3 separate regions of the Homo sapiens genome follow, and all the other regions are linked to region 1. The links are contacts of gene promoters, found by promoter capture Hi-C in blood cells and fetal thymus (Javierre and others, 2016). All regions are on one chromosome and are shown on one strand. Each heading gives the region's core, a stretch centred on a gene start or on the middle of the fragment in contact. The rest is flanking DNA. Distances are from core to core; before and after follow the strand shown.

What was found. The method cuts DNA at HindIII sites, captures the fragments that hold promoters and counts their contacts. A CHiCAGO score of 5 or more calls a contact.
Region 2: a contact is called between a fragment that was not itself captured here and the fragment with the promoter of TRAIP in region 1, in 6 of 17 cell types (megakaryocytes, naive B cells, endothelial precursors and 3 more). The highest score is 8.3, in megakaryocytes.
Region 3: a contact is called between a fragment that was not itself captured here and the fragment with the promoter of TRAIP in region 1, in 1 of 17 cell types (endothelial precursors). The highest score is 5.3, in endothelial precursors.

What each region holds. Positions count from the first base shown.
Region 1 is chr3:49,854,120-49,857,872 of GRCh38, forward strand. It overlaps TRAIP (TRAF interacting protein), which reads right to left and starts at 2,445. Exons shown (of 15, transcript NM_005879.3): 1 at 2,237-2,445. The coding sequence starts at 2,334. The HindIII fragment of the contact is 3,060 bases long and covers 1,501-3,753 here.
Region 2 is chr3:49,699,755-49,703,790 of GRCh38, forward strand. RNF123 (ring finger protein 123) reads left to right here. Exons shown (of 39, transcript NM_022064.5): 12 at 1-18; 13 at 473-598; 14 at 718-810; 15 at 882-955; 16 at 1,737-1,854; 17 at 2,057-2,156; 18 at 2,329-2,390; 19 at 2,580-2,651; 20 at 2,879-2,999; 21 at 3,673-3,774. Among named protein-coding and RNA genes, the nearest start is that of RNF123, 12 kb to the left of the region's middle. RefSeq lists a silencer at 3,802-4,036. The HindIII fragment of the contact is 173 bases long and covers 2,585-2,757 here.
Region 3 is chr3:50,062,495-50,066,257 of GRCh38, forward strand. It overlaps RBM6 (RNA binding motif protein 6), which reads left to right. Exons shown (of 21, transcript NM_005777.3): 16 at 2,537-2,632; 17 at 3,748-3,763. Among named protein-coding and RNA genes, the nearest start is that of RBM5, 25 kb to the right of the region's middle. The HindIII fragment of the contact is 1,270 bases long and covers 638-1,907 here.

The DNA of each region.
Region 1 (3,753 bases), core at 1,195-3,694:
AGTTTCAAACCAGCCTGGGCAGCATGGCGAAATCCTGTCTCTACAAAAAACAAAAATTAGCTGGGCATGGTGACATGCACCTGTAGTCCCAGCTAGTTGTGAGGCTGAGGCAGGAGGATCGCTTGAGTCCAGGAGGTCAAGGCTGCAGTGAGCAGAGATTGTACCACTGCAGACCAGCTTGGGCAAGAGAGCAGGACTCTGTCTCAAAAATAACACCAACGAAAAAAATACCACACATACACACAATTAAAATATTCAACAATAACGTAGAAGTGGGAAAAGAATGTTAGTATTCTAAGCTCTTTGAGTTGCCTGGGAAAATGAGAAAGGTGTTGATTAACCTTGAAATTGGTAAGTTAAGGATACATACCTTAATTTCTAGGATAACCACTTATAAATGGAAATGGGGTATATAACGACCCAACTAACTGAGGGAAAAATGGAGAAATACAGAATATTTAACCAATTCCTACCAAGGCAAGAAAGGAGACAATAAGATATAATAGGCAAGGCAAAACAGAATCGACTAAAGACAATATGTTTACTCTTTATTTAATCAGTAATTGCAACAATTTTAAGTAGACTAAATGGTCCAGTTAAATACAAAGATTATCAGACTGGATTTTTAAAAGTCCAACTAAATGTTGTTTTCCAAGGCTGGGTGCGGTGGTTCACACCTGTAATCCTAGCACTTTGGGAGGCAGAGGTGGGTGGATTACTTGAGTCCAGGGGTTCAAGACCAGCCTGGGCAACATAGCAAGACCCCATCTCTACTAAAAATACAAAAAAAAAAAAATAGTCAAGCATGGTGGCAGGCGCCTGTAGTCCCAGCTACTTGGGAGGCTAAGATGGGAGAATCACCTTAGCCCAGGAGGTAGAGGCTGCAGTGAGCCGAGATGGCACCACTGCACTGCAGCCTGTGTAACAGAGTGAGACCCTGTCTCAAAATAAAATAAAATAAAGATCTTTGCAGTAAGCTAAAGTACTTTTTAATATACAAAAAAAGAAATAAATGCTGTTTCAAGGGATACATGTAAAACACAAGGACACAGAAAAGTTTAAAGTAAAAGGATAGGCCCTAGCACTTTGAGAGGCCAAGGTGGGTGGATCACCTGAAGTCAGGAGTTCGAGACCAGCCTGGCCAACATGGAGAAACCCTGTCTATGAAAAACACAAAAATTAGCTGGGCGTGGTGGCGCACGCCTGTAATGTCAGCTACTTGGGAGGCTGAGGAAGGAGAATCACTTGAACTCAGGAGGTGGAGGTTGCAGTGAGCCGAGATCACGCCACTGCACTCCAGCCTACACGACAGGAGCGAGACTCCATCTCAAAAATAAAATAAAATAAAAATAAATAAATAAAGTAAAAGGATAGAAGAAAATAGAGTAGGCAAACAGAAAATAGAGTACGCTTAGAGGCGAGCTTAATTTCTAGTCTAACCAAACAGCAGTGGCTCCCTCAGCATGGGGCTCAGGCTGTCAGCAACACAGGCCTAAACAAAGCTTTGCAAGTAAGCCAGCAGCCATCAGTGTCATGCCTGCCTTTCTGCTTCCTAGGGCCTTTAGCCCCACAAGACCCTGTGATTATTATCACCCACCATTCCCAGGGGTAACGCTGCCTTATCTCTTTTGCTAGGAGGTCCAAACCGGCCTGTCCACATCTGCTAGGGGAATCTTTCCCCACTAGCTGTACACTCAACAGAATGGCCCTACACGGTCAGCAGGACCCCTGGATAGGGGAGCATCTCCTTGCCTTCCCCATGTTAAACGGGTTTGCTGACATGGCGAATACATTGGGGTGTCTGGACAGTGAGATGACTCTGGGTAGAATAATTCCAAACCATCAAGTAAGGCACAGCAAACTCTCTTGGGTAGCCAGAAGCCTAGCAGGTTTCTATCTGGAAGAAATAAAAGGACTTGTTGATGTGGTGAAAGCTCACCCTTGCCCAGGCTAACGGTTTTGAAATCACATCTGTTTGTATAGGTGATCAAGGAAGCATCTATCTTCACTGAGCCATCTTAGTCCCCCTCAGGCTTAGCTCAGCTATCACCTCTACCAGAAAGCCTGTCCTGACCCACTTCTGCCCAGGTTGGGAAGCTCCCGTGGGGCCTCGTCTAGGAGGAAGGTTCTCATCACTTGTCTGGATTCCGGGGTTGGACCGCCTGGAGGCCCAACACCTCAAGGCCCTGAAGCGGTACCCGGGCAAACACCGGGCCCCAACACTGCAGTCACTCACCACTGCAAGTGGAAGGTGTGGCCGCAGTGGATGGCGGCCACGTCGCGGGAGTGATCGAAGAAGTCGGAGCAGATAGTGCACAGAGCACGGATAGGCATGATGGCTGGACTCAAGGGGCCCAGGCAGCCAAAGAAACTGCTACAGGTCCGGCTTCGTAGACGCGCCCCCGCGCCTCCGCTTGCTTCAAATTTGGCTCCGCAGCACGACTTCCTGGAGCGGGCCGGAAGTGACAACACAAAACTTTGGGCGGAGCGTGAATACTTCGCCTGGATTGGACAAATTCTCGGATGGGCGGAACTATGGGCGGGGCTTAGCGGCCCCGAGGCCGTAGAGAATCCTGGGCGGAGCGCGGTCGCTCTCAGGCGTCCTCTGGGGAGACTCGACCTGCCACTTGAGAGCGCAGCATTATATCAAGGCGGGGAGCAGCGAGGCTGCCAGCTGGACCCTTTTCCAGGGCAAGGCAGCGCATTGTGGTCCCATGCCAGAGCTGGCGCGAGGCAGGCTGGGCCAAGGCAGAGAAAACCGCAGCCGCAAGGGAATAGAACAATGGTCCCGATGGGTCCCTTGGGCTCTGGACAGTGATGGACCATGCGCTATGGTCTGTAGTTCCCATAGACCACAATACCCTACCCTCTCAGTCCTCAGTTCCGGGCGATTCTAGAAAGATGGACACATAGGCCCCAGTCCCTCAGGTCACCCCAGGCCAACCTTGGCTTCATCCAAGTAAGATATGACTATCCTTGAGTTTGGAGACACTAGGGCCAGTACCCTGACTTTAGCTCTTAGCTCTCAGGAGGATCAGTTATGCTTGAGACTGTAGTAGGGTTGGAATTTTGGAGGCCCAGATGCTTCAAAGACTAGAGACTAACAAATCCTTTTTATTATTCCCACATCAGAGAAGTTATCTTTGAGGAGGTTATCTTTGAGGTCCTCCCAGAGAGCAGCATCCCTGGTGAGTTCACCCAGGCCCACCTGGGCTGGAGTAAGTCAACTTTTGGGTTTTTAGGCTTAGTATCTGTGGCAGTGTTACTCCCTCTACCCAGAAGAAACCCTGTGCATAGTCCCATAATATAAAGCTGATCTGCTCCAGCTGAAATAGACCCAGAGTGAGATTTCATTTGGGGCATAGGTGGAAAGCACAGGTGTTCACAGAAAGAAGGAATCAACACAGAGCAGCATAGAATCTTTGTGCATTGCTCACCCTACACCCTCTCCCTAGCTCAGGGAAGCTATCTTTGGCTATGAGCAGGGTCTGTCCTTGCGGTGGCTGGCCCAGGTAGATTCCAGCTCTATGCCTAAATCAAGAGTAAGGCTCCTCGGTCAACAGGAGTCAAAAACAGCAGCCCTTACTTGAGCTCTCAGCCCAGGGAGTATTCCTTGGTCCAAATGCAGCCCAAGACCCACTACTCACATGGATTTCTAGAGTTCAGAGGACCCCCACCACCACCACCATTGAGGAATACACTGTGGTGAGGATGATCTTCACCCTCAGCCCAAGAAATCCACAGGGCACTGTT
Region 2 (4,036 bases), core at 1,421-3,920, 150 kb before region 1:
CACTTTGCACCGCTTCTGGTGAGCGGCATTGGGAGGGGCATGGGAGGGGAGGAGACAGGCCATGCTAGACACGCCCGTGGTAGATGTGCCCTCACTGAGGGCTGCAGTGCTGAGGTCCCACAGCATCACCTGGCGAGGGCCCCATGTGACCAGGGCCCTCAGACCTCAGTCAGTCCCCTAGGGAAACAGGGACATTGCCAACCAAGGGCATCAGGGGATGTCCTGGAAAGAAGACTGAAGGATAATAACATCCCAGGCCAAGGAAACTGCGTGTGCCAAGCCTTAGAGGAGCCGTGGGGCAATGGCCTTCTTGTCCCTCAGTCAGACCCCGGAAGGGGTCATCTATGTTTGGTGTTGCTCGAGTGGCTCAAGGCTCTGTGCCTGAGGCTTGTGCCTTGGCCATGTGCCAGGGCAGGGGTGCCTTGACCAGAGTGGAAGGCCACCACCTCACCAGTGCCTGGCCTTGGTGCAGCGCAAGGTGTATCTGGTGGAGGCTGTGCTCATGAGCTTCTTGCTGGGCATCGTGGAGAAGGGCACACCCACACAGGCACAGTCCGTGGTGCACCAGGTCCTGGACCTCTTGTGGCTCTTCATGGAGGTGAGGCTCCTGACCTCAGGCCTCAGGCCTGGCTGTCAGTCTTCACTGGGGTCGGGAAGATACGGGGAGAATCTTGGAAAAGGCCCCAGTCATGGCTGCCTTGGCATCTCTTCCCCCAGGACTACGAGGTACAAGATTGCCTCAAGCAGTTGATGATGTCTCTGCTTCGGCTGTACCGATTCTCACCCATTGTCCCAGACCTGGGCCTACAGGTGGGAGCCCCTACCCCTGCCCTGAGCCCCCTGGGACTCGCCTGTCCACTCTGAACGCCCCCTCTCCACAGATCCATTACCTGCGGCTCACTATCGCCATCCTGAGGCATGAGAAGTCCCGCAAGTTTCTGCTTAGCAATGTCCTGTATCCTTTCCTTGCTGCCTGGCAGGCCAGACATGGGGTGCCCTCTGGACTCAGCAGAGGCCAGGAAGGGGAGTGTCATCAGGCCAGGGGTCCCCTGGGAGCATCAGGAGGACCAGAGCTGCCCAACGTGGCATTTTCTCTACAGAGCAAGGACGAGAGAGCAAAGGACTGAGCCTGGCCAGCCAGCCTAGCCAGGGGGTTCTGAATGACTGCAGACTCGGGCTACGCAGAGGTGTGGGAGGGGCCACAGGGCCTGCCCTCTTCGGCCACAGCCCAGCACTTTTGTTCATGTTCCACAGTGGGGATTCCTGCAAGATCTTTAAGGAGGCAGCTCTTCCTGCTTCCCAGAATTGTTGGGAACTGCATGAGTGAGTGAGAGCATAGCTTTGAGCCCCTGGCTGGGAAGCCTCAGCTTGTAGCCGTTTTCTTGGTCTGGGGTCTTCCAGCCTCCAGGAGGCAGACACAAAGCTGGGAGACACAGAGGTCAGAGTTGGGGCCTGAGAAAAGGCCACCAGTCCCTCTCTCCAGCTTGTCCCACAGTCATCTGTTCCTGTGACAAGCCCTTATCGTGCACCTGCTGGGTACTGGAGCTGGTGGGCTTAACCACCACAGCTTTTTGTCAGGGAGCATGCCCTGGGGGTCAGACACATAGCAGCAACATGCCCCTGTGGTGGTGGGAGAGCTGTGGTAGGCACATCCAGGGATGGGCTCCTGGGGAAGGACTCTTGAGGGTGTGCAGAGTGCCCTTTGGCAAGCAGAGCCCTGCCTTGACACCCGCCAGCTTCGACGTGCTCCGCTCCGTCGTCTTCTTTTACATCAAGAGCCCCCTGCGTGTGGAGGAGGCCGGCCTGCAGGAGCTCATTCCCACCACCTGGTGGCCCCACTGCTCCAGTAGGGAGGTGAGTGCACCCCAAGTGGGATGGGCAGAGGTCATGGCAAGGCCCCTGGCCTGGGCATCTGGCCACTGGGCATCTAGCATGAGGCCTTTTCACTGGCCCTGGTCCCTGAAGCCCTGGAGATGGAGTGTGGGTGTTCTGAGTGAAGGAGGCCTGGCTAGGTCCCAGGTGACCCTGCTGTATTCCACCTGCTACCCCTGCCTAGGGCAAAGAGAGCACGGAGATGAAGGAGGAGACCGCAGAGGAGCGGCTGCGGCGGCGAGCCTACGAACGGGGCTGTCAGCGGCTCAGGAAGCGCATCGAAGGTCAGCCCGCCTTGGGCACGGGGTAGGGTGGGAGGTGTGTGTGTGCACATGAGGGTGCTTGGAGGTGCCCATGTCTAGGTGGGACTTGGGGAACCCTGGTGGTGGAGCCCTGGCCCAAACCTGCCCCCCATCTCCTGGAGCCTGAGGGCCATGTTCCTCACCTGACCTCCAGTGGTGGAAGAACTACAGGTCCAGATCCTGAAGCTGCTGCTGGACAATAAAGATGACAATGGGGTGAGTGACTCCCAGGAGCCCTGGGTGGGGCCCTGTGGGGAGGGATGCTGCACTGGGCCTTAAGACCCAGAGGGTGGGAACTGGGTTTGGTTCCCATGGCAGGGGCTGGGGGAAGGTGCAGCACTGAGCCAGCCCAGTCTGGGCCTGCATTCTCAGCTCAGCACAGCCTCACTTTTCCCTCTCTCAAAGGGTGAAGCTTCTAGGTATATCTTCCTGACCAAGTTTCGCAAGTTTCTGCAGGAGAACGCCAGTGGCCGGGGGGTAGGTGTCCTCCAGGCCAGCCCACTGTGGATCCCCGGCTGCACTACACATGCCATGCCCTCAGCACCTGGCACTTCTCGGACTGCCTCATCCCTGCCTAGCCCCAAGCTTTTCTCTGCTGCTTTTCCCTCCCTGCTTAACCCTCGACCCTCAGGCAGGGCCTTGGATGAGGAATGGGCAAGGCACTGGACTGGCACCAATGCATGTTTCATGCCTGGTGTCCACAGAACATGCCCATGCTCTGCCCCCCTGAGTACATGGTCTGCTTCTTACACCGGCTGATCTCTGCCCTGCGCTACTATTGGGATGAATACAAGGCTTCCAATCCTCATGCTTCCTTCAGTGAGGGTGAGTGGCACCGGGGTCCCAGGTCAGTGAGGCTGGACAGAGCCAGGCGTAGGGCAGCCCCTAATGTTAGTGCAGAGTGCTGAGCTGAGGCTGTGGGCTGTGGGGAGTTGTCCCCGGCATCCTGCCTGGTTGAGTCCTACCCAGCCACAGGCGGCTTCTCCACTGGGGCAGCAGGAGCCCTGCACCGCAGGCCTGCCGATCCTGTGTTTGCTCTGATTGTCCCACGGGCTCCTACCATTGTGGGCTCTTTTCTTCCGTCCTTGCCCCCCCATTTCTCTGTGCGTCCTTTATAGGGCTGCCTTGGGTGGGTGCTGGGGGGCCCTGTGTTTGAGTCCCCAAGGGTCAGTGGGAGCCTTACCTGCCCTGGATTGGGGGATATCCCACAGGACTGGGGCTGGGCCTCTCTGCTTCTCCTGAGTGAACGGCTGCCATGAGTACCCCCATCACCCCAAGTTATGCAGCTGCTGGCTCTGACCTGAAATGGCAGGGGTGGAGAAGAGGTAGGGGAGGTCTGTTTCTTGGTCCAGGAGACAGTTTCTCTGTCTGCCTGGATGGGTGAGTGGCCAAAGCCAGAATTCCCAGGCTGTGCTAGGCCAGATTGGAGGGGAGGGCTGTGGGGAGGGTCTTCCTACTGGGCCGTGACCACTGGCCTAGCCTCCTCAATTCCTCGCAGAGGCCTACATCCCGCCCCAGGTCTTCTATAATGGCAAGGTGGACTACTTTGACCTGCAGCGCCTGGGGGGCCTCCTCTCGCACCTGCGGAAGACCCTCAAAGGTGTGTACAGGCCTGTGGGCCGGGAGCAGTTCTGGGGCCAGGTGGGGGACTGTCCCTGAGCCTGCTCTGCTGTGGATGCTGAGCCATCCTATGGCCACCAGAGGGTGCCCAAGTCTTTCCACCCACTCAGGCAGGGAGACACTGATCTGCCTGCCCTACATCTGGGCAGCTTCTCTTTCCCGCCAGCACCCACGCCATAGGGGTCGGGCGTGCCTGGCAGGGGACCAGGGATCTTGGTGAGGTGTGGATGGGGCGTGCAGGT
Region 3 (3,763 bases), core at 23-2,522, 210 kb after region 1:
TCTGTATCAAAAAAAAAAAAAAAACCTCTGTTAATGAGTATTTTTACCTGGTGTAGGCAATTCCCTCACCTCTTATATCCCAACTCTCTCTTTTACAAATGGGAAAACTATGGATGGTAGAACAAAGTGGCCCAGCTCAAATCCCAACACCTCAGCTCCATACATTTTCACTTTTCTACATTCCTTTTTTAGTGTTTGACTTTATACACATTTCTCTAGTTGTAATTATAGCAGGAGATACTGTTTAGTCACTTTTTATCCTAAGTATTTTTTCCATGTTTCTATATACTCTATTATTTTTAATGCCCACATGGTAAAAATTCACGGTATAACTGTACCTTCATTTTCTTCATCTCTCCTACATTATTTGTCTTCTCTTTCTAATCTTTTCTTTTTCCTTTTTTTTTTTTTTTTTCTGAGACAAAGTCTTCCTCTGTCTCCCAGGTTGGAGTGCAGTGGCATGATCATAGCTCACTTCTACGTCAAACCCATGGGCTTAAGCAGTCCTCCCACCTCAGCCTCCCAAGTAGCGGGGACTACAGGCATGAGCCACCATGACCAGCTAATTTTTGCTTTTTTGTAGAGACAGGATCTTGCTAGATTGACCAGGCTGATCTCGAACTTCTGGCCTCAAGTAAGCTTCCTGTCTCAGTCTCCCAAAGTGCTTCAGTTACAGGCAAGACCCACCTTGCTCGCCTCTTTCTAATCTTATACTGTCATAATATATAACATTTAGCATTTTGTTTCTTCTTTTAAATTACTCCCTATGACACATTTTCAGAATCAGAGATGATGAACATTTTTACATCTAATACAAAATCAAATTATTAGGCAGGGTGCAGTGGCTCACACCTGTAATCCCAGCACGTTGGGAGGCCAAGACAGGTGGATGCCTGAGTTTAGGAGTTTGACACCAGCAACATGGTGAAACTCCATCTCTACCAAAAATACAAAAAAAATTAGCCTACTGTGGTGATGCATGCCTGTAGTCCAAGCTACTTGGGAGACTGAGTTAAGAGGATCGCTTGAGCCCAGGAGATTGCAGTGAGCTGTGATTGCGCCACTGCACTCCAGCATGGACAACAGAGCCAGACTTGTCTCAAAAAAAAAAAAAAAAGAAAATCTGCCGGGCATGGTGGCTCATGCCTGTAATCCCAGCACTTTGAGAGGCCAAGGCAGGCGGATTACTTTAGGTCAGGAGTTTGAGACCGCCTAGCCAATATGGTGAAACCCCCATCTCTACTAAAAAGACAAAAATTAGCTGGACGTGGTGGCGCAAGCCTGTAGTCCCAGCTACTCAGGAGGCTGAGGCAGGAGAATCTCTTGAACCTGAGAGGCAGAGGTTGCAGTGAGCCAAGATCACACCTACCTTGATATCAGTTATGCATTAGTGAAAATGGATGAATTTGCTTGTGATTCAATTCATAACACCTTTTTTTCCCTTTTTTTTCTTTTGAGACGGAGCCGCTCTGTCGCCCAGGCTGGAGTGCAGTGGCGTGATCTATCTCGGCTCACTGCAACCTCCGCCTTCCAGGCTCAAGGGATTCTCCTGCCTCAGCCTCCTGAGTAGCTGGGATATCAGGCGCTGCCACAACGCCCAGCTAATTTTTGTATTTTTAGTAGAGACGCGGTTTCACCATGTTGGTCAAGCTGGTCTCGAACTCCTGACCTTGTGATCCGCCCACCTCAGCCTACCAAAGTGCTGGGATTACAGGCATGAGCCACTGCGCCCAGCCTTTTTTTCCCCTTCTAACACTGTTAGTTGTTTAGAGATACAGAAAAGAGGAGAGAGAGTGTGTGTGTGTGTTTAAAAACTTAGAGTCATACTGATTTAATATTTGGACTCTGCTTCAGCCACTTAATCTGTCAAACTATATTCCCAATCATTTGTAAAATTAAGATAGTAAAGCTTACATAGGAGGATCATAGTAAAGTCTGAAGAAGACAATGTTTATATATACATGCCTCATCTGGTCTGACATACAGTAATCATGCAATATATACTAACGTTTTATTTTATTTTATTTTATTTTTTGAGACAGAGTCTCTCTCTGTCACCCAGGCTGGAATGGAGTGGCACGATCTCGGCTCACTGCAACCTCTGCCTCCCAGGTTCCAGCAGTTCTTCTACCTCAGCCTCCCAAGTAGCTGGGATTACAGGCCAAAACCACCACACCCAGCTAATTTTTGTATTTTTACTAGAGACGGGGTTTCACCATGTTGGCCAGGCTGGAGCACAGTGGCACAATCTTGGCTCACTGCAAGCTCCGCCTCTCGGGTTCATTCTCCTGCCTCAGCCTCCCTACTAACTGGGACTACAGGTGCCCGCCACCACGCCCAGCTAATTTTTTGTATTTTTAGTAGAGATGGAGTTTCACTGCATTAGCCAGGGTGGTCTCGATCTCCTGACGTTGTGATCCACCTGCCTTGACCTCCCAGAGTGCTGGGATTATAGGCGTGAGCCACCGCACCCAGCCCAGCCTTTATCAGTTATTATGAGTGAATATCATGTGAGAGTTACCTCTGGTTTGATCAGTTTCAGGAAAATGCCAGTGAAGGGAAGGCCCCTGCAGAAGACGTCTTTAAGAAGCCCCTGCCTCCTACTGTGAAGAAGGAAGAGAGTCCCCCTCCAGTAAGACCAACATTGATCCCCTGGACCTAGGGCTGGGGCTGGGGATGGTTCCGAGTAGAAGAGGAAGCGCAAAGGCTGATGCCTTCCTCTGGTGTTGGTCTTTTACCTCACTATGTCTCCCGAATAAGGATTCCCATTTCTTTTGAGTACAAGCATGAGATAAAGTTTTCTGTCTGCTAATGGGGGTATTACTGGAGAACCAGAGGCAGTTATCTGGACTCTTTCTCTCTGCCCTGTGCCATTCTTACCAGACGAGATGCCTAGCCCTTTTTATCATCTTGTTCTTGTCAGTTCTCTAAATCACCAAGGAAACCCGTTTTCTCAGCCTCAATCTTTCCTGCCTTTTGGCATCACACAAGAATCTCTTAGATATGGAGTGCATGCGTGGTCATTTTTTTATAGTTTCTGCCTGTTCAGAGTGAATGATGCTAATATTGGTGCCCATTTTTTAGATGCCTTCAAGCAGTAGTCTCAACCTAATCACCAGTGATTCTGATTGAATGCAGGTATATAACAATAGTGACCATGCATTATTTATTTATTTTGAGTGATCATAGACCAATGATTATGCATCATTATTTAACAGTTCTTATAAGGTACCCTTTTCCTGCTCCGCATTATTAATTCAGCTCATTGTGGCATCTGTCTTAACCATGCTTTGCCTTTACCTTACATGTGAGCTGGATCTGTCTACCCAAGTGCCTATTAATGCAGTTGCTTTTAGTTTACTTCCTAAATCCTCTTTGCTAGAGTCTTAATGAAAGTCATCTTTTCTTCCCTCCATGAGTTACAGTAATTTGGAGGTATTTATCTCTTCCTCTTTGTAATTTGTAACCTTTTACTATTTTCTATGTTTATTTTCCTTTCTCTTCCTTCTCCTCACATTCTGTTGCTAGAGTCACTTCTAAAGGAATCTTTCTTGTTTATTCTTAATGAACAAGGAGCAAAGCCAAGCTCTGGCCATGTTGCTTTCATCTGGGAAATGAGCAGCATGGCTAGTGAGTTTATTTTGAACCCAATTCAATGAAATGAGATGCCCATATCAGAATATCAAAAAAAATGGACCCCAAAATATAGGTTGAATTTGGTATTGATCCCTGGCCTTCTCCTTCCAGCCTAAAGTGGTAAACC